Regions from separate parts of the Homo sapiens genome. Here regions 1, 3, 4, 5 and 6 are each linked to region 2. Evidence: promoter capture Hi-C in 16 types of primary human blood cells and fetal thymus (Javierre and others, 2016). All regions are on one chromosome and are shown on one strand. Each heading gives the region's core, a stretch centred on a gene start or on the middle of the fragment in contact. The rest is flanking DNA. Distances are from core to core; before and after follow the strand shown.

The links. The method cuts DNA at HindIII sites, captures the fragments that hold promoters and counts their contacts. A CHiCAGO score of 5 or more calls a contact.
Region 1: a fragment that was not itself captured here is called in contact with the fragment with the promoter of ACTG2 in region 2 in 1 of 17 cell types (activated CD4 T cells); the score reaches 5.8 in activated CD4 T cells.
Region 3: a fragment that was not itself captured here is called in contact with the fragment with the promoter of ACTG2 in region 2 in 6 of 17 cell types (activated CD4 T cells, naive CD8 T cells, naive CD4 T cells and 3 more); the score reaches 11.7 in activated CD4 T cells.
Region 4: a contact is called between a fragment that was not itself captured here and the fragment with the promoter of ACTG2 in region 2, in 1 of 17 cell types (activated CD4 T cells). The highest score is 6.0, in activated CD4 T cells.
Region 5: a fragment that was not itself captured here is called in contact with the fragment with the promoter of ACTG2 in region 2 in 1 of 17 cell types (activated CD4 T cells); the score reaches 6.6 in activated CD4 T cells.
Region 6: a fragment that was not itself captured here is called in contact with the fragment with the promoter of ACTG2 in region 2 in 1 of 17 cell types (activated CD4 T cells); the score reaches 5.3 in activated CD4 T cells.

Annotation. Positions count from the first base shown.
Region 1 is chr2:74,215,907-74,220,369 of GRCh38, forward strand. MTHFD2 (methylenetetrahydrofolate dehydrogenase (NADP+ dependent) 2, methenyltetrahydrofolate cyclohydrolase) reads left to right here. Exons shown (of 8, transcript NM_006636.4): 8 at 1-1,659. It overlaps SLC4A5 (solute carrier family 4 member 5), which reads right to left. Exons shown (of 31, transcript NM_133478.3): 31 at 336-2,886. Among named protein-coding and RNA genes, the nearest start is that of MTHFD2, 20 kb to the left of the region's middle. The HindIII fragment of the contact is 7,791 bases long and covers 1-4,463 here.
Region 2 is chr2:73,890,607-73,895,603 of GRCh38, forward strand. It overlaps ACTG2 (actin gamma 2, smooth muscle), which reads left to right and starts at 2,402. Exons shown (of 9, transcript NM_001615.4): 1 at 2,402-2,445. RefSeq lists an enhancer at 1,478-2,291. The HindIII fragment of the contact is 3,877 bases long and covers 247-4,123 here.
Region 3 is chr2:74,156,664-74,161,722 of GRCh38, forward strand. MOB1A (MOB kinase activator 1A) reads right to left here. Exons shown (of 6, transcript NM_018221.5): 5 at 2,428-2,591. Among named protein-coding and RNA genes, the nearest start is that of BOLA3-DT, 11 kb to the left of the region's middle. The HindIII fragment of the contact is 1,879 bases long and covers 434-2,312 here.
Region 4 is chr2:74,172,011-74,176,754 of GRCh38, forward strand. It overlaps MOB1A (MOB kinase activator 1A), which reads right to left. Exons shown (of 6, transcript NM_018221.5): 2 at 576-742. Among named protein-coding and RNA genes, the nearest start is that of MOB1A, 4.5 kb to the right of the region's middle. RefSeq lists a silencer at 4,529-4,721. The HindIII fragment of the contact is 821 bases long and covers 2,211-3,031 here.
Region 5 is chr2:74,233,317-74,238,457 of GRCh38, forward strand. It overlaps SLC4A5 (solute carrier family 4 member 5), which reads right to left. Exons shown (of 31, transcript NM_133478.3): 22 at 1,785-1,898; 23 at 86-247. Among named protein-coding and RNA genes, the nearest start is that of MTHFD2, 37 kb to the left of the region's middle. The HindIII fragment of the contact is 4,660 bases long and covers 1-4,214 here.
Region 6 is chr2:74,256,358-74,261,488 of GRCh38, forward strand. It overlaps SLC4A5 (solute carrier family 4 member 5), which reads right to left. Exons shown (of 31, transcript NM_133478.3): 12 at 3,231-3,286. Among named protein-coding and RNA genes, the nearest start is that of MTHFD2, 60 kb to the left of the region's middle. The HindIII fragment of the contact is 5,568 bases long and covers 1-4,448 here.

The DNA.
Region 1 (4,463 bases), core at 1,110-3,609, 330 kb after region 2:
CCTGTCCTACAGTCTTATATCACAACAGGTTGTGCCAAGCTAGGAGCTTAATCTGTAAAATACTTGAGGCAGGGATAGGTTTGTCTGTTTTGGCTTTTGGCTTTCATGCGAGCAGAAGTAGCTCCTGCTCTAGGCAGCTTGAGGCAGAAAGAGAAGAAACAATTGAGTTGACCTACCTCCGTCCTCGTTCTTCTGCCAGCTGGCGTTATTCTTTTGATAGTTCTCTGGAGTTTAAAGAAGTTTAGATAGTTTGCTGGAGATGTTTTTGTAAGTGACGTATAGCTTATGTCTCTAATCCATGCCTGCTTACCTAGATTATTAAATGTGGAGCAAGATGACCAGACAGGATTAAATTTTATTGAATTACAGTTACAAGTGGAAAAAATGACTGACTTACTGCATGGAGAAGTATTATGTCAACCTGTTAAAAGCTATGGAAATTAAAATGTTCATGTATATACAAAATATAAATGACATGTAAGGTAAAATTACAGTGATCAATTTACAACAAAGAAATTAACAGTAGTTTTCCAGCTTGTTTGATTAATCAAGCAGGTTTACTCTTGAATCCATAGCATTTCTACAATTTAATTTGGACAAAGTTCTATTCCAGATCAGCCAGGTTTTAAAACTGAAATGTGTTAAGGGTGGATTGTTAGCTTCCCCAGGATTGGTGTGGATGATAAATACTTTTTTTAAAAATTAATTATTATTGTTTATAAGACATGGATTCCAGCTGTCTCCCTGGCTGGAGTGCAGTGGCATGATTATAGCTCACTGCAGCCTTGAACTCCTGGACTTAAACGATCCTCCTGCATCAGCCTCTGAAATGGCTGGGACTACAGGTGTGTGCCAGCATGCCTAGCTAATTTTTAAACATTTGTTTAGAGATGGGTCTCACTATGTTGCCCAGGCTGGTCTTGACCTCCTGACCTCTGCTGATTCCCCCCACCTCTGCCTCCCAAGTAGCGGGATTACAGGTGTGAGCCACTGTGTCTGACAAGAATTTATACTTAAGCATAGGAGATGGTTCTGGAAATTCTAAGAAATTCTGCTCTCAGTAAGAGTAGAGGTTTGGAGCTTTACCTCTTGGCAGTATCCCTTGGAAGGGAGCTCTGAGATTAAATGTAATCAAACACTTATTGAGAGCTTTCTATGGACCAGGCACTACACTAGACGCTGGGAATTACAGAGGCAATTACCTGTCCTATACTCAAGGTGTTAATGATCTAGTGTCATTTTTCTTTAAAAAAGAAAGCACCTGCATTTGTCATCTTGAGCAAATATAGTAACTCTAACCTCAAGGTTCAAGTGATTTACTCAAGGTTTAAATCATAGTTGTTTTGGAGAAAGTAAGTGTCAGATGCACTGTGGCTGTCAGGGTCATAGTAGGCATTAAATCAACATGGTTGGTGTTCATTAAATGTGGATTGAAGATAAAATGACTGATCTTAAGTTTCATGAGGAATAGGTTTGCTTCATTGAAACTGGTTTTTATCTTCCCAAATAGTTTTCAATCATTCCTTTAAAGTACTAGGTTGATTAATATTGCAAAGTTGTAATGTAAAATGTGACCTTACCTCTGTCTAACCTGTATTGTTCACATGAATGGGAGTTTGACTTTGGGAATAAACATTGAAAATTTGCAGGGAGGACCCACCCAAATGTATCATGAAATGTGATTCCAGGTATGAAAAACCAGTGATACTAATTTAAAGGATCATTTTGATTTAACATGTGGTTTCAAATTTCACTTTAACAAGAACTATTTTATTTTAGAAACATTTATCCACTCAGATGCATTGGTTCTTTCATTAACAGAGTTTTGGAACTGGCTTTTCAATCTGGGAAAGCCCCAGTCACACTTCTGGAGCAAGGCCCATAATGCAGATGGTTCAAACTTTTTTTTTGTTTGGATACGGAGTCTCACTCTGTTGCCTAGGCTGGAGTGCAGTGGTGCCATCTCAGCTCACTGCAACTTCTGCCTCCTGGGTTCAAGCGATTCTCCTGCCTCAGCCTCCCGAATAGCTGGGACTACAGGTGCATGCCACCACACCCGGCTAATTTTTTGTAGTTTAGTAGAGACGGGGTTTCACCGTGTTGCCTAGGCTGGTCTCGAACTCCTGAGCTCAGGCAATTCACCTGCCTCGGCCTCCCAAAGTGCTAGGATTACAGGCGTGTGCCACTGTGCCCGGCTGGTTCAAACTTTTCATATAACCCTTAGGAAATTGGATGTGACAGGGAGAAAAGATAGGACCTTTTCAGCATTTCTTAATATGCAGAATTGCCAAATATTCCAAAGATGGTCTAGTGACATAAAAGTATATTACAAGTTTGTTTGAGAACATCTATATTTAAATCTAACCTTTAAACAATTTTAAATTGATATTTGTTTTAAATATGAATTGACTATTGCCCCTTTATCTTAGCTATGGTTTGGGGAAACAAGCATTTTTTTATTTCCAAAGAAATGTTAGAATTTCTATGCTGAACTGCATTTTAAAATAAAATATAATATTTAGCTTTAGGTATTTTAATTACTACAAAGGGGAGAGCTTTGCATCTAAGCAATACTTTTCATCAATAGATCTCCAGTTTTCTATAGGCAGACGGACTCCCTCTGTTTGATAAAGAAGGAAACAGGCACAGAGAAGTTAAGACCCTCCCAGTGAAGACTAAGCCAGGCTCTCCATCTCCCATCTGGGAGAAGCTGCTTCATCCTAGAGGGTGGTCTCACTGTCAGTTTCTCTTCGGTATTTATCCATGTCTGTGAAGTCATAGTCTGACTCCATCTCTATCTTCACCTGTGGCACCATGAACACTGGGTTCCGTGAGTAGCTGAAAGCAGGTGAAGCTGGACAGGATATTTTGAAGTGCAAGGTGATGCTGAACGAGAAGTAGGAAAGAAGGATTACGTAGTTCTTGGTGTTTTGAACCCATCCCCTAGAGCAGGGCTCTAATGCAAATACTTCCATCTTTGCTTCTGAACTCTCAGCACATGCCAGAATGAGCAGTTTCCTATTGGCTTGGCCTTCAGCCATAGTCACGCATCTGGTCTCACCCTGTAAACCTATCTTCACATTGCTGCCAAGGTGAACTTTTGAAATCACAAATTTGGTGATTCCTCATTGGGTTCAAAGAATCTAAGCTCCTTAGTGTGAGAAGACAGGAGTGTCTTGTCTTCTCACAAACACAAACACAGTCTTCTGTGTTTGTAGTCCTGCCTGCTTAGTTTGCCCCATCCATTGCAGTGTTCTTTGCTCTTTGGAGGTGTGTGTGTGTGTGTGTGTGTGTGTGTGTGTGTGTGTGTGTGTTTGTGTGTGTTTTCAAATGGTACTTCGGGCCTGTGTCCACTGCCTGAAATGCCTTTTCTTTTCTCTGCCCCGCTCTATGTCTGGCAGATTCCAGTTTCCCTTTCTTAGATTCTCAAAACGAGGCTACTCCCTCCCTGTGTACTCCGATATTCTTGCACAGGGTGCTCTGTCTTTGTTTGCATGCCTTTCTTTCCACATCCTCAGGGATTAAGCATCGCACCTGGTAGATCATTGATGCTTAGTCTTTGTTAAACCAGATCATGTTGCAGAGCCTTTCACTGAAACAGAATCTTGCTATTTAGTGATCTTTGCCTCCATCTGTTTTCATAAATTCAGTAAAACACCAATGAGGTTGGGAGATACCATCTCCAGTTACCAAAGTTTCTTCATTTCTGACCCTGTCTTAGGGCCTTGTGTAATTTAACAGGGTTTTGGAAACCCCTAACCTGGTCCAAATTTTCTCTCTACTGCCTGAAATTGGGAGTAGTCAGTCAATTTCATGTAGATTATTTTATAAATGAAAATAAGATAGACTGCTTTTCTCATAATACCGGTGTATACTAATGTATAAAGATCAATGGCATCACATATATAGGAGCCTGACTGGGGAAGTGGGATGAGAAGGAAGGTGGAGATTAACTGGGACAGGTGACACTTTGGGCTAGAGCATCTTTGGGACTGCTGCTTAGGGAGGGTTGAACTGGGGAAAAGTGTGTCGTTTCACCCTGGCATTGGGATAGCAGCTTTGCCTTATAATTCAGAAGATCCCCTGCCCCGTTTCCCCAAAAATCTCTTGGATGAGTGCCCTCTGTGCCTGGAGATTGATCTTCTAGACTTGGGATAGCCTGTGCTGTAATTACTGTTTGATCCCTGTCCATTCTAGGGCACAAGGTAGGAGTGGGACTGCCCCTGGCATCTTCCCAAGTAACAATGAAGTAAAGCCTTTCTTGCCTCTAAATTCATCTTTTCTGTGTTTGCCCCCACTATGTCATCATCAGGGAGTCTCACCTTTTTCACGGGTGGCTTCTCATGAAGAACAATCACATTGTTGGCATGGGGGCTCCTGGCAACTGGCCTTGAACCTATTCTTAACAGTTCCCATCTCCAGTTGATCTCTGATGTTAGCTTTGATGTTGATCTCTGATGTTG
Region 2 (4,997 bases), core at 1,152-3,651:
GCACCCTGTCCCTGCCCTGGCCTCATTCCCACACAAGAAGAGAGAATCAGAGGGGGAGCTTATGACCCTGTCACTTAGCGTTGAGCTACCTGCCTCGGCCAGTTGGGACTGCGAGCACTCTGTCCATGCTGGGACAGCTCACACCTCATCCACTGCCACCTTCTATGCAGCACAGCTCCGGAAAGGGAGCCCTCTTCCCTCCAGAATCCCCAGTGAGGGTTTTCTAGGAACTTGAAAAGCTCAGGAAGCTTTCCACAGGCCTGGAATTTAGACTTAGGCACTAAACACGCAGGCCAGTGATCAAATGATGAGTAAGTGAACCTCACAATGACAACAGTGTTCCTTCTCCACAGGGAACAACTGCAGGTCCTCAAGGAAAGTGTTTTTAAATCTTTCCTCTGGGCTGTCTCAGCAGAGGACACTCCTCATTCACACCATCTCCTGCCTCAATTTTCAGTTAATGAGGAAGCCAGACCTGTACCAAGCCATTGCACCAGGTGACCCAAAACCACCTGGAACTCCCTGTGCGTTTAGCAGGGATGCAATGCATGCTTCTTCTATTGAAGCGGGGGTATCCTGGGCACCGGGTGGGGAAAGTTTAAGAAACACAGATGGCTGAGGCCTATTCACTGAGTTTCTGTTTCAATAGGGCTAGGTGACACCTGAGAATCTGCATTGTGAGCACATTCCCATATCATGCTGCTGCTGCACTCTGGTGGTCCCCATGCTTTGGGAACCTCTGTGTTGAAGACGAAGCAGAGTCAGGAAGGCCAGTCAGGAAGCTGCGCCCCACTCCAGGCCAGATAGGACTGGAGCCTGAGGCAGCGCAGGCCAGCAGGGATTGAGGGAGGACACAGAGCTGAGGGGCATTTCTGGTCGGGGGAGCACCAGGCTGTGGTGCCCAGGTGGTTGTGGGAGCATGAGGGAGACACAGGGTTCTAGACTGACTGACTTCTAGCTTGAAGGGCCGAGGGGTGGACTTGGAAGTTGGCAACCCAGGAGGCACAGCAGCTTTGAGGGTAGGGAAGAAGGGTTCAGTTTTAGACAGGATGAGTTTGAAGAGCTGGAGAGTCATCTGGATTGGGATGTCCAATAGGCAATTGATCATTTTAGTCTGGATCAGGGTGAGGGAGGGGGACCATGAGAATGTGGAGTTGAAAGTAATACTGCAGAGCTGGTAGCTGATAATGTGGGAAATGAACCAGCTACCTAGGGATAGTACATGAATTACACAAAGAAGAGCAATCATCAGCCAGCCATGGTGGCTCACACCTGTAATCCCAGCACTTTGGGAGACCAAGGTGGAGGGATTGCTTGAATCCAGGAGTTCAAGATCGAGACCCTGTCTAATTAAAAACAAAACAAACAAACAAAAAGAAGTCCAGGCGTAGTGGCTCACACCTGTAGGCCAAGGCAGGTGGATCACGAGGTCAGGAGCTCGAGACCAGCCTGGCCAACATGGTGAAACCCTGTCTCTACTAAAAATACAAAAATTAGCTGGGCATGGTGGCAGGTGCCTGTAATCTCAGCTACTCAGGAGGCTAAGGCAGGAGAATTGTTTGAACCTGGGAGGCGGAGGTTGCAGTGAGCCGAGATTGCACCAATGCACTCCAGCCTGGGGGATAGGGCGAGACTCTATCTCAAAAAAGAAAAAGAAGCAGCTCAAGAATCACAGGACTGTGGAAAATCCTACAGGCCAAGAGTCTTGTTAGGTGTGCCTCAACCCTGAAGCAGGTCCCTCAGTCTGCAGATATTTAGAGATATTTAAAGGAAAACCAGGAAGGAGCCAAGAGAGAATGAAGCCTAAGGTGTCCTGAGACCCTCAGAGAACTCAGCCCAAGGGTTAGGAGCTTGTGTCAAGGTGCAGCAGGTGAGTAGGGCACGCAGGATTTCTTTCCTGGGTACGGAAGGCATTTCTCTTCAGCTTTCATTGGTCCCAGGCTCGTGCCAGACAAGGCATGATTGCACCCATTTTGGGGACAGTGCCTGGGCGTCCCAGGCAGACCCAGGGGCCGCATGCAGCAGGGCCTGAGGAGGGAGGTGTGGACGGAGGAGGCCCGCTGCCATTCTTGGTATGGTTCTCACTCCAGGAGCACAGCTGCATCTGGTCTCACTCTGGGCAGCTTATAAGGCCTGGTGTGAGTTTTGTTTATGCAAGTGCAGCATAAAAGGAACAAATCTACCAGCACCGGGGCTGTTGCCACTGAGTCCTTTTGCATACATTTTTCAAATGATAACTCACTCTACCCACCCCCCTTCCCTACCCCCAAGGCGATTTATTGAAAAAACCACCTTATATGGTAATATTGCTAACACACCGTCAGCTGGCCTTTTTAGGGACTTTGTTTAAAGAAGATCCGCCTCTGGGGTTTTATATTGCTCTGGTATTCATGCCAAAGACACACCAGCCCTCAGTCACTGGGAGAAGAACCTCTCATACCCTCGGTAAGTACTGTACGGCTTTTGCCACCTCTTCCTTTCCGGGGCTGCCTGGCCTCCTGGGTGCGGGAGGTGCCTCCAGATTGGCCTGGCTTCTGTGACGCTGGCCCAGATCACACACCAGAGCCCTTGGTGGGCAGCGGCACCTGCAAGCATACTGCAGCCTGCTGAGAAAAGGCGTATCTGGCCATGGGACATCCTGGGGCAGGGGCAGCTTGGAACCGTGCTCCCTGCCTCAGAATGGGGACTGGCGGGATATAATGCCTGCAGTCTCTACTAGCCCTGCTCCCCAGGGCCAGTGCAGATCCACACCCTGATGTCCTTTGTCTTGGGTTAGAATGTCTGGGAGGCTGTTTTAGGGGATCATATACTTTGCAGAAAAGCAGCTTTTCAGAATACTTGAGTCAAAGCCAACAGTGGTCCTGGTGTCTGTGAGCTGTTTAGTCCATGAAATGTCTGTGCTGGGAATGGGAGGGTATTTTCTTCAGGTCCCCTGTGGGTCTCTCTGTCCTCTGATCTGTGCTTGGCTGAGGAGAATGGAGGGTTTCTGCAGTCCTTGAAGGCTCTAGGATCATTGGGGGATGGAGAAAATTCCACTTGCCCTGTGGCATCGTGAGGTTTCAGGGTAGAAGGAACTTGGGACCCATCTAGTTCATTCTCCTCTGATGAGGACATTGAGGCCTAGAGACGTACAGCCACTCATCCAAAAGACTCACACCCAACTGTGACCCATTTGCAGATGTCATTACTCCCCCCAACCCACCCAACACACACACAACACATGCACAAAGAATTAAGAGGAAGATGAGATGAAGGGGCCACTTCTATGTTTGGCATCAGAATTCACTAGCATCTCTTCACAGGTGAGGCAGGCTGGGTGTGGCAGTGCAGGCCTTGAAGGCAGACTGTCAGGCTAACCAAGTTACTGAGCGACCTCAGCTTCCTCACCTGTAAAATGGGGGCAAGAATAATAATATCTACTTGGCGATGGTGTGAGGATTAAACGAGAGAATGCGTATATACAGCACTCAGCTCAAGGCTGTCAGGGCCCGGCCCTGAGTTCTCAAACTTTAAGAATCACCTGGAGTGCTTGTTAAAACACAGATTGCCCCATGCCCCACCCCAGATTCTGATTCCAGTAGGCCGAGATATGGCCTGATACTTGGAATTCCTAACAAGCTCCCAGGCGACACTGAAGCTGCTGGTCTGGGACCACACTTTGTACAGGGAGGCTCTAAGTGCTCACTTTGATTACTTGAATGTGGGTTTGGACTCTGATACTAACCCTTGGGCTGAAAAGAGGAAGAGCTTCCTGTGACAGAGAGGGATGGGTGCTGGAGAAACTGCAATGAACAGTAAGATCCTACATGCCAGGCCTGAGAAAAGGGGATGGGCCGTGTGACATCATGACCTTGGGGCGAGATATCTTTCCTCTTTCCCCTTGTTCATTCTGCCAACATTTATTGAGCACTTATTATGGGCCAGGCACTGTCTCTGCTCCTTAGGGACAGTGGAGAGGCTTCTGCAGTTACTGGAAGAGACAGATAAACAGATGAGAACCATGGAGCAAATAAGTACACGAAAGGGGTAAAGGCCAGGAGGAGCCCATCACTCAACCCAGGAGTTATCAGGGAAGACTTCCTGGAGGAAGAGGTGCCTGAGCTTGGTCCTGAAGTAAGGACCAAGCTTGGTCCTTCCTGGTAAAGAGGAAGCATGGTCTTTGGGACTCAAGTGGCTCAATTCCACTGAATTTAGATAGCAAGGCAGGAATCAGGTAAAACTAAATTCAGAGGGGTCCGCAGGGCTGGATTACAAGGGCTTTAGACTCTAAAGGATCAGGCTATGGGGAGCCATGGAAGGGTTTTAATCTGGAGGGTATCTGTTGAAGGGGCTGCTTTGGCAGCTGTGAGGAGAGTGGACTGGAACAGGGCAAGAGCGCTACTGCAGCATGCGGTGGTCCTGAGCTGGTGGCATGGGTGCCGTGCAGGTAGAAGTAAGAAGGGCTGGTGATAGGTTGGGAGGGAAGAGGGCGGCACCAGGGCATTGGGCATGGGCTCAGGGTGGGTGGTGTGAGTCTGTGAGGGCAGCTCCGGGCAGAGGCTGCTGATGAGGAGAGCAGTCCTGGAGGTGTGGAGTTGGGGTGCCAGGGGGGTTTTGGTGGGGGAGATGCACGGCAGGCTCTGCAGGCCTAGAGCTCAAGAGAGGGGTCTGGACAGGAGCAGAGCCAGGGGAGTGAATGGAAGTCCGGGTAAGAGCCAGAAGATAAGGCACCCACGACAGATTGTGGAGGATCCAAAATATTACTCAGCAGAGTTGTTTTTAATTGAACTCATGTATATATAGAACCTAGTGAAGATATCCTGAAGTTAATTAGAGGTGCTGTTAGAATTTTCCATCGTGGCAGTGTTTTTCATAGACAATTTCTCTCTGCCAGGGTTTCTGATGGTTTGTATATACGTGTAGGCAAATAATAAAAGGCAGAGACGCAGCTGCTTACATGTCACTTGAAGCTCTCACCCAAAAACCTGTCGCCAACTATTGTTTGAAATCTCATCATC
Region 3 (5,059 bases), core at 123-2,622, 270 kb after region 2:
TAACAATTAAAAATGGATCTAAAACTGAAACTCTGTAAATGTCTTTTGGAGAAGGGATTCCCAACTCTAGTTTTCTGAAGTCCAAAAGAATGATGAAATAACCTCTGTGAACATTTTAAAGTAGGCATTTATTCTTTTTCTTTTTTTTTTCTTTTTTGTACAGATGTGGTCTATGTTGCCAAGGCTGGTACTGAACTTTGGCCTCAAGTGATCTGCCCACCTTGGCATCCCAAATCCCAAAGTGCTAGGATTACAGGGGTAAGCCACCACGTCCAGCCCTCTCTTTTTAAAAATATAGGTATGATATTGTGATATAAGTATTTGGTCTTCCTTTTTCTTTACACACAGCTCCTAAAACCCTTGTTGGAATCACCAGAGTGCTAAGAGTATCTTGTATGCTAATGAGATGACTGGTGGCTGGAGGCTCCTATAAAGCTTCAGGATGGGAACTGGTCAACCTTCAGCCAGCCCTCTCCCCTTCCCAGATCACAGCCTCTGGGGAGGGGAAAGGGCTGGCTGAAGGTTGAGTTGATCATCAATGGCCAATTATTTAATCAATCATGGGCAAGTAATGAAGCCTCCATAAAAACACAAAAAACAGGGCTCAGGAGAGCTTCCAGATAGCTGAACACGTGGAGGTTCCTGGAGCATGGCATGCCTGGAGAGAGCATGGAAGCCCCTTCTCCTTTGGCCCTACACATCTCTTCCATCTGGCTGTTCATCTGTATCTTTTGTTAACATCTTTCATAATAAACAGGTAGAGATAAGTATTTCCCTGAGTTCTATAAGCGGCTCTAGCAAACTAATCAAACCCAAGGAGGGGGTTGTGGGAACCCTGGTTTATAGTCAGAGGTATAGGTGACAATGTATTACTTTTGATTGATATCCCAAATGGGGGGCAGTCTTGTGGGACTGAGCTCTCAAACTTGTAGGATCTGATGCTACCTCCAGATAGACATTATCAAAATTGAATCAAATTATAGGACATTCATCTGGTGTCCACTGTAGAAATGATCACTTGCTTGGTGTGTGAGGGACAGTCCCCATGTTTGGTCACAGAAGCGTTCTGTGTGGTGAGAGTATAGTAGGATAAAGGGAGTTTGTTTTTTCCCATATTTTTACAATGGGAGACTTATTAAAGAACCAACTCTAGGTATCAGTATGATCCTCATTGTGTTAAACATTAAAATCAAAACTGTATATATATTTAAATTTACATTAAAATTACCCGAAAAAGGCCGGGCATGGTGGCTCATGCCTGTAATCCCAGCATTTTGGGAGGACAAGGTGGGTGGATCATTTGAGGTCAGGAGTTCGAGATCAGCCTAGCCAACATGGTGAAACCCCATTTCTAGTAAACATAAAAATTAGCCGGGCGTGGTGGCAGGTGCCTATAATCCCAGCTACTGAGGAGGCTGAGGCAGGAGAACTGCTTGAACCCAGGAGGCAAAGGTTGCAGTTAGCCGAGATCGTGCCACTGCACTCCAGTCTGGGCGACAGAGCAAGACTCTGTCTCCAAAAAAAAAAAAAAGAGGGGGGAAAAAAAAAAAAGAAACTACCTGAAAACTACAAACTGAATTTTTGATAAAGGGCCAGTAGACCTTTTATGCAACAATCTGAGAAGGAAGATCAGGAAGAGCATGGTACAGTACACAAAACTATAATACACAGTATCTACTATAAAGCTACCAGGTTTTTTCATCATAAAATATCTAGACAGACATGTATATGTAATTCAATATGCAAAATATAAGTATCTCTAAAGTTAGGCTAAAGGCATACCAATTCTTTGATATCTTTTTCAAACAATGTGAATTATTTTGATTTTTTAAAGTTCCAATTCTGGCCGGGTGCTGTGGCTCAGGCCTGTAATTCCAGCACTTTGGGAGGCCGAGGTGGGTGGATCAGGAGTTCGAGACCAGCCTGGCCAACATGGGAAACCCCGTCTCTACTAAAAATACAAAAATTAGTTGGGGGTGGTGGTGGGCACCTGTAATCACAGCTATTCGGGAGGCCGAGGCAGGAGAATCACTTGAACCCAGGAGGCGGAGGTTGCAGTGAGCCAAGATCACGCCATTGCACTCTAGCCTGGGCCACAGAGTGAGACCCTGTCTCAAAAAAAAAAAAAAAAAAAGTTCCAATTCTGACTAAGGGTCCACAAAGCAACAGGCCACAACCCTGAATGGATAATCCTAACCACAGACCTAGGGTGGCCAGAGGCAGAAGGCCCAAATGGGGGTGATACCTTTTTATACTGCTGCACACATCAATAAAATAAATAATGTGGAAAAGAGAACAAAACAGAAAAGAGAAGCTTGCCTGTAATTGGCTCTACATCTATAACTAAGACACACAGCTCTTTGTTGAAGTTCCCAATCCAAATAAGTCCAAGTCACAGGACACAGAAATCAACATGGATCAACTTACCTGAACAAAGAAAATAAAGTGCTTAAAGGAGGTGTTGAGGTGGGCCTCCTCTTGCAGCTGCATCACAGAATCAAAGTGCTGGTGATAAATATGGGCATAAACCCTGAACAGACGCTTTAGAATAGTCTTTGCCACAGACATAAAGTTTTTGGGAAATGGGACACCTGCAATTAAATACACATATGAAACAATTATTTGGTTATCTAACAGTAGAAAGTTGTTTATTTGTGACAGGGTCTCACTTTGTCACTCAGGCAGTGGTGCAATCTCAGCTCACTGCAGCCTCGACCTCCTGGGCTCAACTGATCCTCCCACCTTGGCCCCCCAAATAACCTGCACTACACGCCACCATGCCCAGCTAATTTTTTGTATTTTTTGTAGAGATGGGGTTTTGCCATGTTGCCCAGGCTGGTCTTGAACTCCTGAGCTCAAGCAATCTGCCCGCCTCAACCTCTTAAAGTGCTAGGATTACAGGCATGCCCAGCCTAACAGCAGAAAGTTTACACACTGCCATGAGCACCTGCAACATATAAACACACACATTCATAAATACACACAAACCTACCTCTGTATATATTTTTTAAAGCCAAGGAAATGAAAACCCAAACCCCAATCCTCACAAAGTACCACACTTTTTTCTGACTGCCTTAGGCACAGGTATCAAATTATGTAAGATGCTGCTAAATCAAAGTTCAAAAATCCTGTAGTTTTAGTTTTTTGTTTTTTGTCCCCCCCCCCACCCCGGAGACTGAGCCTCACTCTGTCACCCAGGCTGGAGTTCAGTAGCATGATCATGGTTCATTGTTACCTCCACCTCCCAGGCTTAAGCAATCTGCCCACCTCAGCCTCCAAAGTAGCTGGGACTACAGGCGTGCACTACTACACCTGGCTGATTTTTGTATTTTTAGTACAGATGGGTTTTTGCCATGTTGGCCAGCCTGGTCTCGAATTCCTGGCCTCAAGTGATCTGCCTGCCTTGGCTTCCCAAAGTACTGGGATTTAGTTCTTTAATATTAGAGAGTTTCTTTCTGAAATTAAATGCAACAAGAGTAAGTATTTTGATCATAAATATTTTTACTTTGTAATTTGTAACTCTAAAGAAATTACACTGGCTCCGTGTGGTGGCTCGTGCCTGTAATCCAGCACGTTGAGAGGCCGTAGTGGACAGATTGCCTGAGCTCATAAGCCTGAGTTCAAGATAAGCCTGAGCAACAAGGTAAAACCTCATCCCTTAGGAAAAAAAAGAAGAAATTACATACATACGCACTCTCTCAATGAGGACTGGAAACTCTCCTAAGCAAAATAAAAAGGCAGCCGGGCACAGTGGCTCACGCCTGTAATCCCAGCACTTTGGGAGGCCGAGGGGGGCAGATCACGAGGTCAGGAGGTCAAGACCAGCCTGGCCAAAGAGACCAGCTTGGCCAACATGGTGAAACCCCATCTCTACTAAAAATACAAAAATTAGCCAGGGGTGGTGGCAGGCAACTGTAATCCCAGCTACTCGGGAGGCTGAGGCAGAGAATTGCTTGAACCCGGGAGGTGGAGGTTGCAGTGAGCCGAGATCGCGCCACTGCACTCCAGCCTGGGTGACAGAGCGAGACTCCGTCTCAAAAAAAAAAAGAAATCTCTTTTTAGAAAACAACGGGGGTAGAGTTTGGTATCCTTCCAAGCAGTGGAGATGGGGATCCAACTGGTTACATTCCTGAGAATTTTGGCTGACAATATCAAAGTCCATTAGAAAACAGGGACAGACAGGTCAGGAGTTCGAGACCAGCCTGACCAACATGGTGAAACCCTGTCTCTACTAAAAATACAAAAATTAGCCAGACGTGGTGACTAAGGCCTGTAATCCTAGCTACTCAAATGGCTGAGGCAGAAGAATCGCTTGAACCCAGGAGGCGGAGGTTGCAGTGAGCCAAGATTGCCGCCACTGCACTCCAGTCTGGGCGGCAGAGTGAGACTCCATCTCAAAAAATAAAAATAAAAATAAACCTACATTAGTTGGCCTTAAAGGCCTGTTCCACAACGCTACTCTTGAAACACATTCTTTTTTTCAATTTTTCAGAAAACAAAGGCTTAAAACACTCTTTCCTTGCATTTTTTTCCCAGCCAGTTCTCAATAACCTGAAACTTATTTTGCTGATGTTTGTGGTTATTCTCCACCACCACCCCAGTCCTCATTAACGTGACTTTTCAGACATTATCCTGGAGCTTACAGGCATGTTTTCCTGGGCAGGATCTTGTATTCATGTATTGAAAAAGCAGATTTCTGGCCGGGTGCAGTGGCTCATGCCTGTAATCCCAGCACTTTGGGAGGCCGAGGCGGGCGGATCATGAGGTCAGGAGATCGAGACCATCCTGGCTAACACAGTGAAACCCTGTCTCTACTAAAAATACAAAAATTAGCCAGGCGTGGTGGCGGCACCTGTAGTCCCAGCTACTCGGGAGGCTGAGACAGGAGAATGGCAGAATGGCGTGAACCCGGGAGGCGGAGCTTGCAGTGTGCTGAGATCATGCCACTGCACTCCAGCCTGGGCAACAGAGTGAGACTCCGCCTCAAAAAAAAAAAAAAGCAGTATTCTGGCCAGGTGCAGTGGCTCATGCCTGTAATCTCAAGCTCTTTGGGAGACTG
Region 4 (4,744 bases), core at 1,371-3,870, 280 kb after region 2:
ATATCATCTCAGAAATGAGAGACTCTCACATTCAAATCTCTAGCCTTAGCATATTGTCCCATGTCATGCACTTGTTCTCTTGAACTTAAAGTGACTTTCAGCTCAGATCCCTCCATTTTCTCCCAATCTCTCAATTCCCTCTGCCACTCTAAGTCACAACAATCAACTGTCCATATGAACTGCAATTGACTTTTCTGGATATGCAGGCTGATGAGTACTGCTGGGAGTGGAAGTAAAACTGTAGATGGATTTGCTACAAAGTCACAGACCACAACAGGCATAATCTTTTCATTTATCAATCTTTTATCTGACCTTACTCAGCTTTTCATACTATTCTTCTTAGAAATTGCCCAAAAGCACTCATCATTTCTCCTCAGCTCCCTCTACTCAACCTCACAAACTACCACCTAGTACTCTGAAAAGAGCAACATAGCTTTGGATGTATTTGTACTTAATGTTTCTTTACAGATAATTTGTTATATTAAAACAGTTCTAACTGTAAAAGAAAATTCATTAACAAAGAGATTTTAGCAAAACCTTTCTAGAAAACAGCAAAGTTACATTTTAAAACTTACTGTTCACAGCAATCCATTCATTGAGATCCTCTCCCTCAGGCAACATAACAGCTTGTCTCAGATTCCCACTTCCTAGAGTTGCTTCTGCATGTTTTAAGAGTTCATACTGATGAGATCCTTCAGGGATATTCTTCTTTGGTTTGAATGTTTTAGAAGAGCGGCTGCTGCTGTAAGATTAAAAGTGCAAGTATATGAATTTTTAAGACTGGAAGTAGAACAGGTAGAACAACATAATTTTAGGTATATAAAGTAGCCTGTAAAAATAAAATAAAAAATACTCTCTGGGCCAGGCATGGTGGCTCATGCCTGTAATCCCAGCACTTTGGGATCACCTGAGGTCAGGAGTTCAAGACCAGCCTGACCAACATGGTGAAACCACACGTCTACTAAAAATACAAAAATTAGCCAAGCATGATGGCGCACACCTGTAGTCCCAGCTACTTGGGAGGCTGAGGCAGAAGAATGGCTTGAACCTGGGAGGCAGAGGTTGCAGTAAGCTGAAATCGCATCACTGCACTCCAGCCCAGGTGACAGAGCAAGACTCAGTCTCAAAAAAAACAAAAACACTCTCTGAAAAATGCCAAGATAGGAAGATGATGATCACAATACAAGAATGCTTTTTTTCCCCTGCCTGTAAAAGCAAGATTAGCAGCACAATTCCACAAATAAGGCAATTTTACTATGCCCTCTGAAGAAGTCTGGTACAGAGAAACATCCTGGATTTTAGTTCTTGATCTGACACTAACTGTGTCTTCTTGAGAAACTGAACCTTCTTTTGGCCTCAATTTCGGTTTTTTTTTTTTTTTTTTTTTTGAGATGTAGTCTTACTCTGTCACCCAGGCTGGAATGTAGTGGCACAATCTCGGCTCACTGCAATCTCCACCTCCTGGGTTCAAGCGATTCTCCTGCCTCAGCCTCTCGAGTAGCTGGGATTATAGGCATGCACCACCACACCCAGCTAATTTTTTTTTTTTTTAGTAGAGATGGGATTTTGCCATGTTTGCCAGGCTGGTGTCGAACTCCTGACCTCAAGTGATACACCCGCCTCAGCCTCCCAAAGTGCTATAGAAAATGATGGGGCCATGCCGGGCGCGGTGGCTCACGCCTGTAATCCCAGCACTTTGGGAGGCCGAGACGGGTGGATCACGAGGTCAGGAGATCGAGACCATCCTGGCTAACACGGTGAAACCCCGTCTCTACTAAAAATACAAAAATTAGCCGGGCGTGGTGGAGGGCGCCTGTAGTCCCAGCTACACGGGAGGCTGAGGCAGGAGAATGGGGTGAACCCGGGAGGCGGAGCTTGCAGTGAGTCGAGATCGCACCACTGCACTCCAGCCTGGGCGACAGAGCGAAACTCCGTCTCAAAAAAAAAAAAAAAAAAAAAGAAAATGATGGGGCCATGGCTAGGTGCGGTGGCTCACACCTGTAATCCCAGCACTTTGGGAGGCCGAGGCAGTGGATCACGAGGTCAAGAGATTGAGACTATCCTGCCCAACATGGTGAAACCCCGTCTCCACTAAAAAACAAGTACAAAAATTAGCTGGGCGTGGTGGCACACGCCTGTAGTCCCAGCTACTCGGGAAGCTGAGGCAGGAGAATGGCTTGAACCCAGGAGGCGGAGGTTGCAGTGAGCCAAGCTTGCACCACTGCACTCCAGCTTGGCAACAGAGTGAGACTCCGTCTCAAAAAAAAAAAAAAAAGAAAAGAAAAGAAAAAAGAAAATGGTGGAGCCAAGTGCAGTCGCTCACACCTCTAATCCCAGCCATTTGAGAGACCAAGGCAGGAGGATTTCTTGAGCCCAGGAGTTTGAGACCAGCCAGGACAACATAGTAAGGCGGAATGGGGGGTGGGGAAGATAAAAAGAAAATGGCGCAGGGAGGTTTAGTTCAAAAATCCAGTATTCTATATCAAAATATTTGAGACGCCTTGAAAGCAAACCACAGTAAAAGAAACACTAACATCTTTAAGTTTATAATAGGGAAAATAAATGAGACAGGCACAACTCGTTATTGAGGAAAAAATGTTTTTATTCCTATCTCACACCATCCATAAAGTCTTCCTGCACAAAACTCAGAAACCTCAAAGAAAAAGTGGACAGATTTCAAATAGTATCAATTAAAACTTTCATAACAGAGCAAAAAGACAAGTAACCAAATAAAAGTACTTGTAACATATATTACAAAGGATGAACTGGATAATAGAGGGCTTCTGTAACTCGTTAAGAATATAAGGAATCCTTTAGAAAAATAGGCTAAGGAGATGAATAGGCAATTCAGAAGTATGACAATCAATGAGCATGAGAAAAACTGTTCAATTAAAGTAAGATTTATTTTTTCCCTAATCTGAATGTCAAAAGTTTAAATGATTACATTAAATGTGGACTAGGGTAGGGGCCCCCAACCCCAAGGACACAGACTGGAGCCCACAGAAGGAGATGAGCAGTGAGCAAGCAGCAAAGCTTCATCTGTATTTACAGCTGCTCCCCATTGCTGGCATTACCACCTGAGCTCCACCTCTTGTCATATCAGCAGAGGCATTAGGTTCTCACAGGAGCGTGAACACTACTGTGAACTGTGCATGCAAGGGATCTAAATTGCATGTGCCTTATGAGAATCTAAAGCCTGATGATCTGTCACTCTCTCCCATTACCCCCAGATGGGATTGTCTAGTTGCTCAGAGCTCCCACTGATTATACATTATGATGAGTGGTAGAATTATTTCATTATATATTCCAATGTCATAATAGAAATAAAGTGCACAATCAATGTAATGCATTTGAATCATCCAGAAACCATCTCCCCAACCAGATCTGTGGAAAAATTGTCTTCCACAAAACTGGTCCCTGGTGCCAAAAAGGTTAGGGACCACTGGACTAGGGTACAGAGAAACTAGTATTTTAATACACTACTGGTGAAAGTATAAAGTGTAACATTTTGGGAGGGCAATATGGTAGTATCTATTAATACTGAAAAGCTCCTCAAGCCATCCATTCTACTTCTAAATATCTCCTCTAGATATGGATAAGAATTTTTTTCCAAGATTGTTTTTAATAGGGAGAAACCTAGAAGCAATCCTCAAGTTTATCAGTAGAGGATTGAATTAAAGTATGGTACATCCATATCATGGAATATTGTATAGAAGTTAAGAAAACCAGACAGAGTACACGTATTCACAGGGAAAGATCTAATACATGGTTAAACATAATACACAACCAAACGTACAGCAGGAGCCCATTTTGTAAATACATAGAAAATATCAAAAACTAAACTCATCAAAACTGGTGATTACTTCTAGGAAGAGGAATGGAATAGAACTATGGACTTTTACTTTACCTGAGTAATTTGGAATTTAAATAAGACTGATTAAGAAGTAAAAAAGAGCCGGGTGCAGTGGCTCACACCTGTAATCCCAGCACTCTGGGAGGGCAAGGCGGGTGGATCACTTGAGGTCAGGAGTTTGAGACCACCCTGACCAACATAGTGAAACCCCGCCTCTACTACACACACACACACACACACACACACACACACACACACACAAACTAGCCGGGCGTGGTGGCAAGTGCCTGTAATCCCAGCTACTTGGGAGGCTGAGGCAGGAGAATTGCTTGAACCCGGGATGCAGAGGTTGCAGTGAGCTGAGATCGCACCACTGCACTCCAGCCTAGGCAACAGAGTGAGACCCTGTCTCAAAAAAAAAAAAAAAAAAAAAAAGGAGGTAAAAAAGAATGATGAAAACACTAAAAATCATATCTGAAAAGTTTTTAACATGATAAAAAAAACTATATTGAACAAGGAAGAAAATATTTGCAAATCATAGATGTGATAAAGACTTGTATCTAGAATGTATAAAGAAGTCCTACAACTCAAAAAGACAGCCCAATTTAAAAACAGGCAAGGCCGGGCGCAGTGGCTCACGCGTGTAATCCCTGCACTTTGGGAGGCCGAGGTGGGCGGATCACTAGGTCAGGATATTGAGACCATCTTGGCTAACACGGTGAAACCCCGTCTCTACTAAAAACACAAAATATTAGCCAGGCATGGTGGCAGGCGCCTGTAGTCCCAGCTACTTGGGAGACTGAGGCAGGAGAATGGCGTGAACCCGGGAGGCGGAGCTTACAGTGAGCCGAGATTGAGCCACTGCACTCCAGCCTGGGCGACAGAGCAAGA
Region 5 (5,141 bases), core at 635-3,134, 340 kb after region 2:
GAAAGAAGCATCATGTCCTTCCTTCGCTCTTTCTGACTTTGTGGGAAGAAAGAGGTTATGCCTCTGCTCCTAGTACCGGCCTTACCTTCAGTTTGTTCTCCTTCCGGTTGACAATGACGGCAGTGATCTGCTGGTCCATGAAGATCAGGATGGTCACCAGCAGGGCGGGCAGGATGCTTGCTGGGTATACCCACCACGGGTTCTTCCCAAAGGGGGCCACGAACCAGCCTCGGTCAGGCCGCGTTGGCTGAGTGGGAGCAAACAGAGAGGGGCCCTTTCCTCTCTCCCTTGTCCCAGGGCACTTGTCGCCTGGCCTGCTGTCCCACCTCCTCAACTTTCCCTGACTTTGGGTACTTTTCAAGTGCAATCTTTTCCCTTAAACACCTTAGGTAGCTGCAACTTTAGACTAAATTCAGACATGGGAAGGAGCATGCATGCAGACAGTGTCTGTAAAACTAAGAAGGTAATTTGCTGCAACAGCCCTGGGGTTTGTCAGGAAACATGGAGGTGAAGGTCAGAGGGCAGCCAGGAGAGAGAGCACAGTCACCTGCTGCAAATAACAAACAGCAGGAATGAGGCCCAGCAGAAAAGAATAAAGAAATGGGTGGGCCCAGGGCCAGCTGCTTCTGCCTCTCCTGAGTCACCTGTCTGGGAGCATTATAGAATTGTCTGTAAAATGCTGAACATCAGTTCAGTCCTGCATGTTCAGAATGAGGAGAATATATAAAAAGACTTTGTCTCAAAAAACAAACAAACAAACAACAACAAAAAAAACCTTAAAGACAGGGAGGGTAAGTTCTAGAATCTGGACTCCCTACTCTGGTGAGATCGTTGGTGCTCTTTTTTTTTTCTTTCTTTCTTTCTTTTTTTTTTTGTTTTTGAGACAGAGTCTTGTTATGTTACCCAGGCTGCAGTGCAGTGGCGTGATCTCCGCTCACTGCAAGCTCTGCCTCCCGGATTCACGCCATTCTCCTGCCTCAGCCTCCCGAGTAGCTGGGACTACAAGCGCCCGCCACCACGCCCGGCTAATTTTTTAGTATCTGTAGTAGAGATGGGGTTTCACCGTTACCCAAGATGGTCTCAATCTCCTCACCTCATGATCCGCCCACCTCGGCCTCCCAAAGTTCTGGGATTATAGGCGTGAGCCACCGCACCTGGCCGGTTGGTGCTCTTATGAGGGAGTAGGGCTGGGTTTAGCTACAAGCATATGTCACCAGTTCTAACTAGTGGGTAATTTCTAAGCAGTGGTTCTCAAACTTGAGCATACTCCAAGTCACCTGAAGGGCTTGTTAAAATGCAGATTGCTGGTCCCACCCCCCAGCTTTTCTGATTCCACAGGTGGGGCCGAGAAATTGCATTTCCAACGAGTTCCCTGTGACTGTGATGCCATGATATTGGTCTGAGGACCACACTTTGAGAATCACTGTTCTAAGGGATCAGTTTCAATGGATCCCATTTGGCCCAGCTTATAGATTGCTAGAGGTCAGGGAACTGGAGACACTCAAATAGGAATCAAGAGGCTTCTGCTGGGTTGGAGGGTGAATTCCAGTGCCTTCCTCACCTCGTGACTATAGATCAGGATTTCCTGGTGAATATGTTACCCCTCCCCGCCCTACCTCAAAGGACTGGCTCCTGGGAGCCTGTGTTCAGGAAAGGTGGCACACAGAGAACTAAAATGGTCTCTTGGCCAAGAGGAGAAGAGAGTTTGATCAGCACAGAGGGGAAAGAATCTGCAGCTGGTAGGCAGGCAGACTGGATGCCCAGAGCGAGGGAAAGGGGCAAACCTTGATGACACTGGGCACATGCAGCTTGGGAGTTTCTAGGCCAAAACAGGCATCGATTCCACAGAACATCAGGATGGAGAAAACAATGGAAAAGTCAGCCACCAGGGCCCGGACCTGCAGACAGGAGATGAGCAAGTAAAAGAAGTGAGTAAAGCACCCACCCAGCTCCAGGCAGCCCCAGTCCTCCGGCAGCAAAGAGGTGAACTATTACAGTCTGGGCTCTGAAGGCAGCAGAACTAGGCTCAAATCCAGGCTCTGCTCCTTGCTAACTGTGTGAGCTTGGGGAAGCGTGTCATCTCTCCAAGACTCAATTTCCTTCTCTGTAAAATGGAGATGATGGTAGTATCTCCCTCAAAGGTGTAAGTGAACTGTGACACATTTAGAGTGCTTGGCATATGGTGGTCAATGTGGGATCTGTTATGATCCATATGGCCATGGCAGCCACTGCTGAAGATGTGTTCTGGTATGACAGTCTGAACTGGGGCACCCAGCAGGTATGATGAGGGCAAGGGCTGGACTCTGAAGCAAACCTTAGTTCCTACAAGCCTGTGACAGGTTGTTGTACCCCACCTGGGCTAGGAGGGAGGCTCCCCAATTCCACTGGGGATCATTGGCTACACTCAGACCTTTTGTCCACCAAGAGTCTCTTGTTCCGCTGTTTCTCAAGAGGCCCTTCCTAGGCCAGGTTCTGAACCTGGAGGCCCTTCCTAGACCAAGTTCTGAACCTGACCTTCCTGCCCATTCTGAATCAATGTCCTCCGACCTCCCCTCCAAACCAACTCTATGTCCAGAAGTCTCAGGACAGATGGTCCCCCAACGTCTACCCTGTGGCCTTTTTAATATCTTTTCAAAGAAGGCAATTTGAAGGGCAGGGGCAGGTGACAGTACATTGACTTCATTCCCTGCATCCCCCTTTTCTCTTTAAATTTGTTATTAACATAACATATGTAATTGGTTAAAAACCCACATAGTGGAAAATACTTATGAGGAAAAGCAAAGTCTCCCACCTCCCCTTTTCTCAATCCAGCCCCGCCTTCCAGATCTATCCACTATGTCTGCTTGATTTTACTTGTTCCAGAGGTTCCCTCCATGTCATTAACTAATATGCATATACTTTAATATTTTCATTTACTAATTTAAGGGATTATCTATTGATAAGAATTTACCTTTACTTACACTGTGCCTCCTGTCCTTTCCTTATTCCTAATCTTTGATAGTTAATTTTAAGCTCCTATGGGTTTCCTTTGTACTTTCAAGTGATAATAATTAAACATCTCCTTCCATTAGCTTTGGCTAATATCTCTCATTCTCCATCTTGCAAGGTGAGGACCACTGCCTCTATCCTCCTACCACCTCTCTCCTCCTCCCCTCTTCCTTCCTGTCACACCTCCACTTTGACCTTTCCATTGTCGAAGCTGAGAACAATCATTTCTTGTTCCGTAAACACATGGCTTGTGTGTTTTATCTGTAAGTCAATTCCAAAAGTTGAAAATTAGTAACAGCTTTATATTATCATGATCATATAAATATTAGTCACAGCAGAACCAAGTAGTGTGCTGGGTTTATACTTCCTTTTCTATAATATTCCTAGCATATACATCAAAACCATATGAATGCTTATTAAGTTAAACCACATGAACTTGACTTTTTTTGTAGGTTGAAACAGTCAAATATGGGCAACTTCATATGGTCCAACCTAATCAGAGAGTGTCAGTTGCTCTCCAAATTGGATGTATCTGTCTACATTCCCACCTACTGCTTTCCATCTCCAACATCTGGTGTCCCAAGACCTTCATCTGTCTACCAATCTGATGAGTATAAAATGGTGTGGCCTCATTCCTCTCTGCAACCGGAAATTCCAGAAGGCAACTGAGCAATTTTTTTTTTTTTTTTTGAGACAGAGTCTCTCTCTGTCGCCCAGGCTGGAGTGCAGTGGCGCAATCTTTGCTCACGGCAAGCTCTGCCTCCCGGGTTCATGCCATTCTCCTGCCTCAGCCTCCCAAGTAGCTGGGACTACAGGCGCCCACCACAACGCCCGGCCAATTTTTTGTATTTTTAGTAGAGACGGGGATTCACCATGTTAGCCAGGATGGTCTCGATCTCCTGCCTTCGTGATCCGCCTGCCTGGGCCTCCCAAAGTGCTGGGATTACAGGCGTGAGCCACTGTGCCTGGCCCAACTGAGCAATTTTTAAGTAATGTGACGGAAAAAATGTTGTTGGCACAAGAATTTCATGCCACATGAATTACTTTTCATCCTGTAGGCAACAGATAGATACTCTCAGATACAGTGACTGCTTGAGAATTTTTACATAAGAGGAGATTGAGGGATGTGCTCTGGACTGGAAGTGGGCAGGAAGGAAGAGAACTTGTCTTGATGGTGCATTTGTGTTGTAAGCAAACTATTTTTTTACTCAGTTTATATACTGTGAAGCTTCCTAAAGCACCTTTTATTTAGTCTTTAGAAAATCTGGGAAAAATTCAACTATTTATTTCAAAGATTTTATCATTATGATTAGTAGCAGTAGCAGCTGTAATACTTAGTTAAGATGGCTTTAGGAGACTGCTAATGGAGTTTACGGTGGGAAAGAGTTGCTTAAATTCTTCCGAGTACCCCCCACCCCACGGCACAGTTACTGCTTATGTATGCAAGTGCTGTTTTCATAAATCTTTTATTCCAGCCACAAACAGGTAGAAAATAAAATTTAAAACAGCAGTTAGGGCTGGGTGCGGTGGCTCACACCTGTAATCCCAGCACTTTGGGAGGCTGAGGTGGGGGGATCACCTGAGGTAAGGAGTTCAAGACCAGCCTGGCCAGCATGGTGAAACCCCGTCTCAACTAAAATTACAAAAATTAGCCGGGTGTGGTGGCAGGCGCCTGTAGTCCCAGCTATTTGGGAGGCTGAGGCAGGAGAATCACTTGAACCCGGGAGGCGGAGGTTGCAGTGAGCCGAGATCATGCCATTTCACTCCCACCTGGGTGACAGAGTGAGACTCTGTCTCAAAAATAATAATAATAATAAAATAATAATAACATAGCAGTTAGCATTTACGACGGTATAAAAAAATCAAGTACCTAGGAATAACTCTAACAAAAAATGTTCAAGACTTAAAGATCAAAATGTATAAAACATTATGGAGAGAAAGAAGACCAAAATAAATGAAGTATACTGTATTCATAAATCAGAAAAACTCAAAATTTGAAAGACGTTAATTCTTCCCAAACAGAGGCAAAGATAATCCCATCAAAATTCCAACAAGTTTTCATTTTGGTGAAATTTAAGATGATTCTAAAATTCATGTGGAAATGCAAAGGGCCAAGAAAATATTATATAAAAAGGACAAAAGGGGAGAGCTTG
Region 6 (5,131 bases), core at 415-2,914, 370 kb after region 2:
AGGAGGAGGCCTGTTCTGATGGTCAGAGTAAACAGGCCTTATTTTCCCTTTGCCACCAGCTTCCTGGCTCACAGGAATTCCTGGACCAGTCTCCAAGTCTGTGGGAGACTTCCATGCCCCCACATTACCCCCAGGGGACCTCCCAAGGAAATTCATCACTTCTGGAATTTTCCAGCAGAGACTATCAAGGTGGCCTCTCTCCAGTCTCTCTGGCTAGTGTCACTTCATGGGAGGAAGGTCACACAGGCAGAGCCAGTGGGGTCTGATGTGAGAGGTACTGGAGACAAGCCCTCCACCCAAATGTATTCCCACTCTCTGCGTTTATAACTTCCTGAGTCCTCTTTTATGCTGAAGATACCCCAGGGATGGTTACTTTCAAGCTCTTCTTAGTCCTTAACGTCTTAGAATGAATTCCTTTTTCAGATTGCTTTCCCTCTGGGCAGCAAGGGCATGGACAGACAAGAGACAGAGATAATTTTGTCGGAAGATGGAGGGGAGCAGTTGGGGTAGCGGCAGGACTGGGTGCAGTCCACAGTCGCTGACACAGTGGGAAAGCGCCTGGGGGTAGAGGACAGCTCTGAAGAGAGCGCCTGTGAACATCACAATTTTCCTACCAATCCCCCTTCTACTGCAGTCTTTCCCGCGGGCACAGGCCTGTTTCTCACAGCCTCAGTGAAGACACAGCTTCCTTGTGCCTCTTCCTGTCCCTGTGGAGGGGTCAGCTATGGGCATGGATATGGTCAACAGGTCCTGCCATTTTGTCCCCACAGCTGTTTCCCAATTCGACTCATGTGGGGGCATCATACACACTGGGCTGGGTGGCCTACCAGCACGAGGAGGGGCTCGTGAGCAATGGCACTACCCTTATAATCGTTTAAATCCAATCAGACAAAAAAAAAATAACCCTCCACAACCACCTGGGCAACCATCAGCAGCCCCAAGGATCCTAACATAGTGAGAAAAAGCAGGAATTGACAGGAACACCGGAGTCCCCAAGACTCAAAAAGTCCCTTTGTCTCAGGCATGGTCAGCTGATTACTAAGCAGCGTTCTTCAGGGTGGAGGGCTGGGTGTAACAGGGCAGCCACCGTCTCCGAGCATCAGGCAGGGAGGGGGTCCAGGGAAGGGGAGGAGATACGGGCTGGGCAGGAGCACCCTGGAGAAAGAGGCTTCGGAAGCAGCAATGCTTCAGGGTGTCCCAACAAACCCACTTGTTTTTGTTGTTGTTTTGATTTGTTTTGAGACAAGAGTCTCACTCTGTCGTAAAGGCTGGAGTGCAGTGGCACCATCTTGGCTCACTGCAACCTCCTCCTCCTGGGTTCAAGCAGTTCTCGTGCCTGTCTGGCACATGCCTGGGACTACAGGCATGTGCCACCACGCCCGGCTAATTTTTGTATTTTTGATCGAGATAGGGTTTCTCCATGTTGGCCAGGCTGGTCTCAAACTCCTGGCCTCAATCCATCAGCCTCAGCCTCCCAAACTGCTGGAATTACAGGTGTGTGCCACCACACCTGGCCATCCAACCAACCCACTTGTAATACAGAAGATAAGAGAAATTTAACCAGGGAGTTGGTCCTTCCTTACACGTTGTGACATGTTTGGTAAGAAGGCCAGGGTTGTGGCATCCCAGAAATGGGAGCATGCTAGTGTTCCAACCAACCCTGGCTTGCCCAAAGCCTGGATGTGGGCTTGTATAACCAGGGCCCTGCTGACTCCACTTCCTGAACCCTTGGGGACTCCAATCTGGCTCTGCACTGCAGAGTCACTGCAGCACAACGATGCTGTCTGAATCTACTCTCTGTTCACTGGGAATCTGCCAGCTGAGGGCAGGCATGGAGTTTAGCTTTGCACAAATCAATGATGAAGAAAGAGCCTGCAGAGCAAATGCCTCTGGGCTTGCACCTGAAGAGCACCCAATAGCAGAGACCACTGATGCTGCAAATACCGAGAAGCAGCATCAAGTATCAGCAAGGAGAACCAGATGCTGGCGCTAGGTGATGGGTTCCAATCCCCAAATCAAGAAAGCACTGTCTGGTGAAAGGGACAGCTAGTGTTATTATTACCACTCACACATTCATTAAAACAGGTTATAAAAAACTTTTACTAGGTAATGCTTTCTTATCACAGTTGCACTGTCTGTATGCATGAGTAAAAGTGGTTTTCCTCTCCAAATAATGTTCCAGAATACTGACTAGTTCCTAAATTACTTCCAAGTTAAGGGCTCTGGAGTTAGACTGCCTAGGTCAAATCAAAGTTCTGTCTTTCAGCTGTATAGACTTTGGTGTGTTATTTAACTGCTGTAAGCCTCAGTGTTCTCTCATGAGTAAAATGGGAATGAAAATAGTGCCTTTGTGATTCACAGAAAATGCCTGGCACAGTGTAGTGCATGTGGTGTGGAGCTTAAATATTGATTGATTTTGTTACTGTTGTTATTAATTTATTTGTGCCCGGGACACTGACATGAGGGGCTGACTTTGTTTTTGCCTTCCACCAAACTTAGGGGTGGCTGGAAGGCCTGGAGGTCACCCAAGCTCCTGAAGGCTCCTCGCCAAGTCTCAGGTTTCCTTTGTCATCTTTCTTCCTACTCCTGGGGAGATAGACAAGGGGACCATGGGGCCTCCTGTCCTTGAGGTATGCAGGAGTTGGAATTAAGGGGGCCTCCTCTGGGCTTCCCCAAGGGGCACAGTCACAGGATTCTGGGGCTGTGGGCCTTAGAACTGGACCCAATTTGTTTGCAGAATTCTGATCTCATCACGAGGGTTTCAGCCCAGTTCATGGGAGACCACAGGAAGAAGATGCACTATTGGACAGTCTAATTAACTACCACTGTTCTCGCCACAGGGAGATTCTTTTCTGTCTCTCTGCCAGCCCCAGTCCCTATCCCATCTTTAAAGGTGCTTGTGGATCACAGGATAGATGAAGCCATGTGTGCTGGTCTTCTCTCTCCAACAAATCCCAAGCTCAAGGACAGCTGGCGCCTCATTTAATCATGTTCTCTGTCCCACACCCCCAGGGCCTGACACAGAGCCAGCACCTGGGACTCCGTCATTCCCCGACTACTGGCCTTGGCAAAGTCCCCCAGGCAGCCCAGAGTCCCCACTGGGGATCTTCCTGGAACTCCCACTCCTTTGTAGGAGTGGAACTCTGCCCATAGGGGATCCCTGCTCCTGAAACCAAAGACTTTTTCCTGCCCTGGCCCTCCATTGCAGCTAAGTGCAGGGGTTTTACTACCTGGTCTGTGTTTGGGGTGAGAGAAATGTCATTCATGCTTCTGCTCTGGGCATGACCTAGGAGAAAAGGAAAAGAAGATCCATCAGGGGAAGCCAGGCTCTTGCAGGTCCCTTTCCTATGGGCCCTACTCATGTACCTCTCCCATGTTCATAACCAAAGCAAACTCCCTCCCCCTTAATCCTGCAGTCCCCTTAAACTAGCATCCTCTCACTTTCCTTCTGTTCAATGGCTGCTTTCCTGAAAGAGGTGTTAGACTCCAGTTTCCACTGTTTCCTTCTCCCTCCTCAATCTACCACACTCTAGTCTCTACTCCTCCACCCCAACGTCTTGGATGTCACCAGGCTGTCTACTCTGGGTGTGGCTCTGCACCAGGCCCGGATAGGAGGAGGGACACAGACGCATTATTAGGTGAGGTTCCATGTGTCACTTAGCTTGGAATTTGCTGGAGGGGGAGCAGTTTCACCTCTGTCCTCCATGACCGGTGAGAGTCTTCAAACATGGGCTGGGGATTTAGGCTGGCAGAGGGAAGGAAGGTGGGCTTCCCATGAGAACAGTGATAGCCAATTATTTGAACTGCCCAATAGTTCCTTCCTCTGTTAAGAGAGAGAAAGCCAGCTCTCCTCTCCCACTAGCCCAATCTGGTGGACACCCTCAGACCTATCGTGTCTCGGCTATTGGCCTGTGCCACTCCTGGTGTCCAGAATGCTGCTCCTCTTGGCTCTCCTCCTCTCATTTCTGTCCCAGGATCCTCTCCTGCTTGGACATCCCAGGGCCTTGTCTTTGCTCTCATCCCCTCCAGGTGCCTCAGCCTCTCCGCTGGTCAATCGCTCCCACTCCTGTTGTTTCCAACACCCATTTGGGCTGAGGATGCCCAGGATGGATCTTTAGTCTGACTCCTCTTCTGAGCTGCAGACTCCTTGGAGCAGTCCCCTCTGGCACCTCAAATGCAACTCTTTACCTGCCCCCAAATCACTTTCCTCATGGACACATTCCACTCAATGCCCCTCCCTCCCATCCACCAGCCCTTTAGACAGAAATCTAGGAGCAGCCTTGGGCCCTCCCTCTTCCTCACCTCCTACTTCCCACCAGTACTTCAATTCCACCTCTGTCCCTTCCTCTCCATTCTGGAATGCAGGCTCAGTCTCTGCCTTCCAATGTTGCCCCTTCTAGATTATTCCTACTCAGACAGAAATCCGATCACAGCATGCTCCTGCTTCAAGCTTCCCAGGGGTTCCCATTATCTTCAGAATAAAACCCGGGTTCTTTTGCTGGGTGCACAAGGCCCTCTTTGATTTGACTCTCTCTTCCCTTTAACTCCTGCACTTCCTGTGAACTGGACTAATGTTTTTATTTTCATAGCTCCAGCTCCTTCTCTTCCATCCCCCAACCTCCTATTTGTTTTGTTTGTTTAGAACCCCCTCTTCCTCCTCCTTGCTCCTGGAAAACTTCTATTTATGCTCCAAGACTCAGTCAGTGTCTCCTCCTCTCTGATCCTTCCCCTGTGCGCTGTGTTCTGCATGCTGGGCCACCTCATGGCGGGTGCCCACCTTGAATATGACCTGGTTCACACAAAGCTGCAATCATCCATTCGTGCCTCTTGTCCCAGTGGTTCCCACCCCTAAGCAGTGTCAGTAGGGAGGTGACCTCATATACAATGATAACTGAGTGGAAGGTCTTCCCGAAGCCACTCTGTACCCACTGAACACTGCCACTGGGCATCCCTATGTGGCATAACAAAGCTGGGGAGACTAAGAGGACTTGGGTCATCAGGACAGAGAGAGAAGACTGCAGCAAATGCCTGCTGTGCCCAAGGCCACAGGCAGGGGCTGCATTGCCCCCAAGTCACTCCTTGGGCCTGGACAGGGGTACAGCACTGGGCTGAACTTGTTAACATCTTGGCA